2 separate regions of the Homo sapiens genome follow, and region 2 is linked to region 1. The links are contacts of gene promoters, found by promoter capture Hi-C in blood cells and fetal thymus (Javierre and others, 2016). All regions are on one chromosome and are shown on one strand. The core of a region is centred on a gene start or on the middle of the fragment in contact, and the rest is flanking DNA. Distances in the headings are between cores, read along the strand shown. Region 1 holds the start of CDKN2B-AS1 (CDKN2B and CDKN2A antisense cis and trans regulatory RNA 1). Region 2 overlaps MLLT3 (MLLT3 super elongation complex subunit).

Region 1 (4,077 bases), core at 1-2,500:
CCACTTCTTCAACTAGGCCACTAGGCCCAAGCGCATGAACAGGAAGCCACTGAGAAGCGGGCCACATTTCCAGGTTCCCGGAGCTGGGCCTAGTCCCGAATCCTCTGGCACACACCCACCCACTCAGGCCGCGGGTCCAGCCCGCGAGGTTTAGGACGGATCCAGGCAGACCGCAGGCTCCGGGTCGGGGCACCGGGTCAGCGCGCCGGCCTGAAGGCGGCGTCCTGGGCTCGACTTCCCGCGCGCGGAGAGCCGGCGAGCCCGCGTCCGAGTTCCTGGACGAGAGCCGAGCCTCGCTTAGACCGCGCTCAGGACCCGGCTCCTCCGCATTCTCCGGCTGCCCCTGTGTCCTCGACTCACCCCTCCTTTCTGCCGCTCCTTCCTTTCCTTGCCCTGCTTTTACTGTTCCCAAACAGGACCGCTTTTCCTGTCTCCCAGCTGGAAAGGAGGAAGGGAGAGAGTCCAGAAAGGATCGGTGATGTGGAAGAAAAGGGGAGGAGGGGACATGGAGGGGGAGACCGGAGAGAGAACGTACGCCGAGGAGTCAGGCGGCGGGATCAAGGGGAGTCGGGGTGTCTGGGCGCGGGGCAGAGCGTGGAGGCGGCAGCGGCCAACGGTCGCCAAGACAACCATTCTACGCGAGGACGCGGCGACAGGAGGGGAGCGGCCAGCAGGGGAGGGGAGCGCGGGGGAAGAGGAAAGAGGAAGAAGCGCTCAGATGCTCCGCGGCTGTCGTGAAGGTTAAAACCGAAAATAAAAATGGGCTAGACACAAAGGACTCGGTGCTTGTCCCAGCCAGGCGCCCTCGGCGACGCGGGCAGCTGGGAGGGGAATGGGCGCCCGGACCCAGCTGGGACCCCCGGGTGCGACTCCACCTACCTAGTCCGGCGCCAGGCCGGGTCGACAGCTCCGGCAGCGCCAGCGCCGCGCCGTGTCCAGATGTCGCGTCAGAGGCGTGCAGCGGTTTAGTTTAATTTCGCTTGTTTTCCAAATCTAGAAGAGGAGCGGAGCGGCTTTTAGTTCAAAACTGACATTCAGCCTCCTGATTGGCGGATAGAGCAATGAGATGACCTCGCTTTCCTTTCTTCCTTTTTCATTTTTAAATAATCTAGTTTGAAGAATGGAAGACTTTCGACGAGGGGAGCCAGGAATAAAATAAGGGGAATAGGGGAGCGGGGACGCGAGCAGCACCAGAATCCGCGGGAGCGCGGCTGTTCCTGGTAGGGCCGTGTCAGGTGACGGATGTAGCTAGGGGGCGAGCTGCCTGGAGTTGCGTTCCAGGCGTCCGGCCCCTGGGCCGTCACCGCGGGGCGCCCGCGCTGAGGGTGGGAAGATGGTGGTGGGGGTGGGGGCGCACACAGGGCGGGAAAGTGGCGGTAGGCGGGAGGGAGAGGAACGCGGGCCCTGAGCCGCCCGCGCGCGCGCCTCCCTACGGGCGCCTCCGGCAGCCCTTCCCGCGTGCGCAGGGCTCAGAGCCGTTCCGAGATCTTGGAGGTCCGGGTGGGAGTGGGGGTGGGGTGGGGGTGGGGGTGAAGGTGGGGGGCGGGCGCGCTCAGGGAAGGCGGGTGCGCGCCTGCGGGGCGGAGATGGGCAGGGGGCGGTGCGTGGGTCCCAGTCTGCAGTTAAGGGGGCAGGAGTGGCGCTGCTCACCTCTGGTGCCAAAGGGCGGCGCAGCGGCTGCCGAGCTCGGCCCTGGAGGCGGCGAGAACATGGTGCGCAGGTTCTTGGTGACCCTCCGGATTCGGCGCGCGTGCGGCCCGCCGCGAGTGAGGGTTTTCGTGGTTCACATCCCGCGGCTCACGGGGGAGTGGGCAGCGCCAGGGGCGCCCGCCGCTGTGGCCCTCGTGCTGATGCTACTGAGGAGCCAGCGTCTAGGGCAGCAGCCGCTTCCTAGAAGACCAGGTAGGAAAGGCCCTCGAAAAGTCCGGGGCGCATTCGGCACTTGTTTTGTTTGGTGTGATTTCGTAAACAGATAATTCGTCTCTAGCCCAGGCTAGGAGGAGGAGGAGATAACCGCCGGTGGAGGCTTCCCCATTCGGGTTACAACGACTTAGACATGTGGTTCTCGCAGTACCATTGAACCTGGACCTCCCTTCACACAGCCCCTCAATCGTGGGAAACTGAGGCGAACAGAGCTTCTAAACCCACCTCAGAAGTCAGTGAGTCCCGAATATCCTGGGTGGGAATGACTAAGACACACACACACACACACACACACACACACACACACACACACACACAGTAGGAAAGGTGTATTTCAAGCACACTTTCTTTCTCCTTGGGGAGAATTATTGCTAACCATCTAAGTTTTCTGGAGGCGGCCTTTTTTCTCCCCAGCCTCCCGGCGGGGTCACCCTCTCCCACCTTCCAGGAGAGTGGAGGACCCGTGAGATACGGGGCACGCAGGCAGCGACTTCCTGAAATGCTAACAAGGATCGTAGGATCAGTTACTGCTGCGAGGAGCAAGCACTTGCTTCTTGGGGGAGTTTTGCAGCCAACAGGGAAATGGGCTTTCTTTGTGAGTTAGAGGTAGAGGTCCGGCGGCCTGAGTGATTGAAACTGCTCGGGACAATGCTCGTATGTTTAGCAAACGACAGAACTGTAGAACTGTTCCTGAGAAATCCCAACTGATAGTATTTTAGTCATCTCAGACGACAGTTAGCACAGTTTAAAAATGAGGCCTACTTCTTGAAAAACAGAATCCAAGGTAGTTTTGTCCTCACATTGACAAATGTTGACACAGCCAGTGTAATTTCCTATAACCAGGAAAACTGAAAGAATATATGTACAGTTAAAATATGTACAATGCTAATTAAAACTTGTGTAATAAGTCTAAAAGTAATTTAATGAGGCTTCACTTTTATGACCGTCCTTGTGGTATGCTTCGCCAGGAATATATAGCTTCAAAAAGCAAAGGCCAGCGGAGGGGTAATTATTTTTTTACTGCAATGTTAATTGTCTCTTTGACATGGAAATATAAACCTGTTAAAACTATCAGTGTTTAATTTAGTGTCTCAATTTCTATTAGCAAAAATTTATAATCTATAGGATAAATGCACATTTTATTTTTTACTTTTCATATTATGCAAGTTAATTTTTTTAATTTAGTCAAAGGAGCTTATAAAGGATTTCAGGGCCTGTTGCTGGATTTGATTTTAATTCATTTTGAAACATTGACAAGACCCTGGTTGTTGTTTTTTTTAACAGTGGTTTATCCGTATCAGCAAAAGTTTAGCCACTGTGACCGGTAACTGTATGAATATAGTTCTTAATATTATTGTCTATATAAAAATATTTATTACTCTAGTTAATATTATTCTATATAAAATCATTTTGTTTAAATTATTAAGTTGCCTCTGAAAATCTGTAGTAACAAAGTAGAACATGTCAATGTATATAAATGCCATAATTATGTATTTTTTAGTTTAGGCCTATAAAACATAACATTGTGGTGATTTTAAGTTAGAGAAAATATTTTATAGTATGTTAATGTATATGCATGAAATGCAAAAATATTTAAATGATAGGTTCATTGAAATAGATCATTTTTTGTTATTTAGGTATAAATCAATTTTCAGGACGTATGTGAAAAGCGCAATCTTCAGGAAGTTTCTCAAGATAGAACACAGCTTGGATAGAATGTCTTGAAATATATGCAATTTTCCAATTTCATATGTAAAATGATATACATAATATAAAATCTAGCGGTGTTAATTATAATGATATGTAATTATATATTTCACATTAATATATTTTATGCCCATGGCTATATTGATTTGGGAATATATATGGATACTAATTATGTTAGGATTCATACAATTCCTTGAGAGGCACAAGTGCTAAAAATTACTTGTATGAATTATTTAATATCATTGCAAATAAGATGTTATTTTAACTTTTTTTAAGTTTCTGCAAATATGTTTATTATGACTTTTTATTTTTATATGATTGGAAATACATATACTAAAATTCCACGTTACCAGTTTCTTAACCACAGAAACCTGAAAAATTGCCATAGTTGATTTGTTACTTCTACCTTGGTGCATTTACAAAATAGTCATATTTTTATTATGAAGT
Region 2 (4,589 bases), core at 1,137-3,636, 1.4 Mb after region 1:
TAGCCTCGGGATCCGGGTGCGCGGCGCCGCGCGGGCCAGGTCCCGGCTCCCGCCTGCCCGCGCGCGCGCCACTTCGGCTTGGTGAAAGTCACCGCAGAGAAAGGACCGTCAGGTGTCGAGTGTTTATTCATCCCAAGCCAGCCCTCACCAGTCCTCTGGGGTTAGCCGCGGGTTCTGTGGGGAAGGTGCAATTAGTTGTTGAGTTTGGAGATGTGGGGAATCGGGCTGGAGGGAATAAACACTTTGCGCGTGTGTGTGTGTGTGTGTGTGTGTGTGTGTGTGTGTGTGTGTTTTCCTAGAGAAATTAAGATTTACCTGTGTTATTAGCAAAGAATGTATTGGATGTAGTTATTGTTCGGTCTTGGCAAGTCGGTTCTCTTTAGGGTCTTCTGTGCTTTCCTGTCTGTGTATGAGGCACCAGGTGCCAGTTGCCATAGACTTTTCTTTTTGTGGCTTAGCCACCGCCACACCCACTCCAGTCTGGATTTTATGTTTACTTGGGGGGCTTACTCGTTCCTCCCTCCCACCCCCGCGTGCCACTTGACTGCTCCTTTGATTCTGAGCAACGTTCCAAAGTGTCTGCCGGATGTGATCTGCAGGGAGACTGTTCTTGCAAAGGTCGAAGCTAAGTTGAAGAGGAACGATGTGGAGGAAGCCTTTTGCTTTAGTCCCTCCCCACCTTGGTTCTTAGCCTTGGAGTCTAGTTTGCATAATCCTACTGGGCCTCTGTGGTCCCAAACATTTTCCATAATGGGCAGGACAGTTTTGGAAAAAAGAAACGGAGTGTCATTTTGAAAGAAATTTAAAGAGGGTTTGAGAAATACCGATTTCTTTTCCCTTCAACCTCTGGAAAACTAATGTCTGGTTGTTTTAGTTGGATTAGTGAAGGTAACAGTACAAATACAATAAGGTGCTTTGTTTGTGAGCAGGTTTATTTATCTAAGTCGACACAATGGTTAGTAGTTATCTTCCATTTGATCCGTAATCTTTATTGGCATCTAGAACTCCTGTCGTTTCTTAGAGTAATATCATAATAAATCCATTCTGCTTAGAGCTGTGTGGAAATTATTGAACATTCAGGGGGCTGAATAAAGAAAGGAGAAGCGTCGTGTGCCTTAGAGGTGGCAGAGGTTTGTATTGGTGCTTAGTTTTGTTTCCAGAGCTCATGTAATGGGAAGTAGGATTGTATTTTTTGCCTTTAGTGGTTTGGTTTATAACTCCTCCTGAAAACTTGAACGGTTGAATTTGATGGTCTTTGTTGGATGGTTAATAAATAAATCCAGTTTCTTATAGAGGGCTAGAAATATGCATGGCCTATAGGAAATAACATTTGAAATTTGTTAGCATTTTATGTTAAAATATAGTCAGAGATTATTATATTTCATATTTCCTCCAAACTGTGGTAAGGATGAGCGATGTCAAATTTCTATCGCTGATGAGGTTGATATGCTGCTTCTCGGATTCTCTCTCTCCCTTTCCATGTGTCTGTAGAGCAGAGGAGTTTAAACAAAAGAAACCACTTTCTAAGATCCTTGGTACACATTATTACTACTACTTGGCTGCAGTTCACTTCAAGGTGAAATAAGCTTTTAAAAAGCAACATTTATTAGGAAAATTAACTCAGTTGGCAGAAGATGTAGCTCTTAAGGTAACTTTGTTTAGGCACCTTGACAATCAACAAATTGGCATTATGAAATTAAAGATGATCAACCTCTATTTTACCATTGTTTTTCTGCTTCAGTGGATGTGTGCATTGATGTTATTTTTATTTCCTATACTTAATGATTTTCTGTCTGCCCTGAGGGAACATGAGGGTGCTGCTCACATAGGCCACACCTGGGAGTTGTTGCTAGGCGTGGTAAGCTGCTTGATAGCAGTGATGACTTCTCAGAGGTCTCTGGTGAGAGATGTCTGCTTGTTGGTTGGATTCCTCAATTTTTATACTCAACTGTGGAGGTTCTCTATGCAGTCTATAAGCCATTGTTTTAAAATGTTTATTTTTGGATTTTTATTTGTATGCGTGCTTCCCATGATGTGACAAGTCCTGGGAAAAGTGCCAGCTTACATCACCCAGGAGAGACCTTGTCATACTGTAATTACACATGATTCAGATTGCAAGAGAAGGTTTCTCTGTTCATTGGGAATAGTTGTAAGTTCAAGCAACACCAAACATGCCACTTAATCCTGGGACTTATTTTTTGGCTTATAAAGTCTTTCAAAATGATAAGAATAAATATAGAATAAGAATGCCAAGAATTTGTATGTCTACTTCCAGTACCTTTTAAAGTGTTATGTTAGCTATATTGTAGATCTATAAGTGATAGAGTAAAATTCTACCAATTGGAAATTGGAGAAACTGAAAATATGAATTTGTGAGAAATCTGAGTTATAAGATCTTTAAAAGAAATGCTCATATTCTATAATAAATAAGCTGTGTTGGCTATAGTGACAATCTAAATCACTTTCACTGTATACAGTAGCTGCTAAACAGAGATGAGCCTTAGGACTGAGGATGAACTGCTCAGCCACAAAGATGAAAGAGTCCTTAGTTTTGTAAATCTTTGGTTTGGAAAAGTGAATTGATTTTCAGGTTGATTTCCTTTACTTCACAGTAATATTAGAATTTGTAGGAGAAAAAATTATAGTATTTTTAACTTGTTGCTTAATGAGAATTATGTATACCATTTCAGAATTGAGCTAATTGGATTTGAATTAATGAGGTTTTACTCTGTCACAAAGATGGGTGGGAGACCTTCAATTTAAAACTAATGGCACAAAATCTTAGAAAAGAGATTTTGATGAAATGGTGAAGCCTGGAATGTCTATTAGCCATGACAAAACAGGTAGGTCAGAGTATGATGCATTTTTAAACTATTTACCTGCAAAAAAAGACAATATCTTATTTATTAGTACCAAAGATTTGTACTAGTCTGATATGACTGAAATGAATAGTCACATTCAAAACATTTCTTTTAAAATATTAATGTTTTTGTTTTTAGTATGATGTGAATTTGAGTGAACTTTTTTTCCAGTTACAGCCATCCTTACTATTGCAATTTGTTTCACTGACATTTATGATATGAAATCTGTTGCTTATTATTTTATGGAAGCTAATTTGGCCACTGGTAGGATTTGATAGCTTTTTATTTGTAGCCTTAGTCCTTTGAGTGGGCAGATAAAGCTTAATAAATCCACTCTAACAATTTTCCTTTAAGTGTATGAGGCCAGCTTTACTGCATAGTTTTGATTTGTGTTAAATGGTCTTCTGAAATAATTTGGGTAAGTTTTTATCAAGGTAACTAATACTTGAGGGCTTACTAGCTGAAGACGTTGTGTGCATCTGGTATATTTTCTCTTCAGAGTCATTTAAAAGATATAAGGAACAAAATGAAGATGAGTGACTGTTCTGATAGATTCAGCGAGTGTTATTTGTGTAGGGTTCTGTATGAAATTTAGATGACCAGTGAGAACAGTTTTACTGCTGTGCATTTTGAAGCACATAAAGTATAATTTTCCAAGGCACTTAAAAGCTGAATTGTTGGTGGAAATCTCATATTCTGTGGGTGAGAATGTAAATCGGGCAGGGGTATTTTGGAGAACATTGGCAAGGTCTATTAAGATTTTTAATGTTTATACTGTTTAGCCTAGCAAATTTACTTCTAGGAATTTTCTGACAAATATGTTCTCACAAGTACACAAAGATACAGCATGTTTCTTGTGACTGTTTTTGTAATAGTCAAAATTTGGAAGAAAGCCATATAGGGGCCCTCAACTGGATACAATTAAATGATGATAATCTATAAAAAGAGGTATATCTATTTGTAGATGCAGGAAGATCTTCAAGAATAATTAAGTGAAATAAGGCAAGTTGCTAAATCATTGTGATCTCATTTTTTCAAAAAAGTGCTTGTGCAGATAAGTATACGTATGTCTATACAAGTGTATGTCTGTAAATAAGTAAATTTGCATTAGCGGGCATCAAACTCTTACTAGTAGTTTAGTAGCTACTTGTGGTGGTGATGGGAGGTTATTTTTGTAGTGTTTGATTTTTTTTTAAAGTTAACTCCGTATATTTAAAACATTCAATGAGCACACATAACTTTTTAAAACTGAAAAAGAATAAAAAACCAATATAGAATATTGTTTTAAAAATAGGGATTAGCATGTAGCTATCTAAAAGTTAAAGATCTAAAAGTGATCTTTAATATCTTGGGTAGATATTGTTGCTTAAAGATGGAGAGAATTTAGGGTTAGGAATTACAGACTTGTATTCAAATGTTGGTTTAAGAGACTCCTTGTATGGTTTTGGACAAGTTACTTCTGTGTCTCTTTTCTCATTTGCATTATGGAAATGATGATAAAATAGAACTATTACCTCATAAGTTGAGGTTGAAATGTAAATCAACTGTTTTCATACTTATTGGGCTTAAGATCCTTTTACACTTACAAATTGAAGAACGCATAGAGTTTTTTTGTGTAAGTTATATCTATTAATTTTAGTGTATTAGAAATTAAAATGGAGACATTTTAAAGAAATTAATTTGTCTAAAGGTAGTAACCTATTATATGTTAACATACAGGTAACATTT

What was found. Contacts are between HindIII fragments. The CHiCAGO score rates a contact against its expected background, and 5 or more counts as called.
Region 2: a fragment that was not itself captured here is called in contact with the fragment with the promoter of CDKN2B-AS1 in region 1 in 1 of 17 cell types (total B cells); the score reaches 5.0 in total B cells.

Annotation. Positions count from the first base shown.
Region 1 is chr9:21,991,964-21,996,040 of GRCh38, reverse strand. It overlaps CDKN2B-AS1 (CDKN2B and CDKN2A antisense cis and trans regulatory RNA 1), which reads right to left and starts at 1,250. Exons shown (of 19, transcript NR_003529.4): 1 at 880-1,250. It overlaps LOC124902130 (a long non-coding RNA gene), which reads left to right and starts at 2,013. Exons shown (of 2, transcript XR_007061436.1): 1 at 2,013-2,155; 2 at 3,561-4,077. It also overlaps a transcript of CDKN2A not described here. RefSeq lists silencers at 797-996, 1,317-1,576. The HindIII fragment of the contact is 17,311 bases long and covers 1-4,077 here.
Region 2 is chr9:20,615,955-20,620,543 of GRCh38, reverse strand. The region is part of intron 2 of MLLT3 (MLLT3 super elongation complex subunit); the gene reads left to right. Among named protein-coding and RNA genes, the nearest start is that of MLLT3, 4.2 kb to the left of the region's middle. RefSeq lists a silencer at 1-96. The HindIII fragment of the contact is 1,595 bases long and covers 1,589-3,183 here.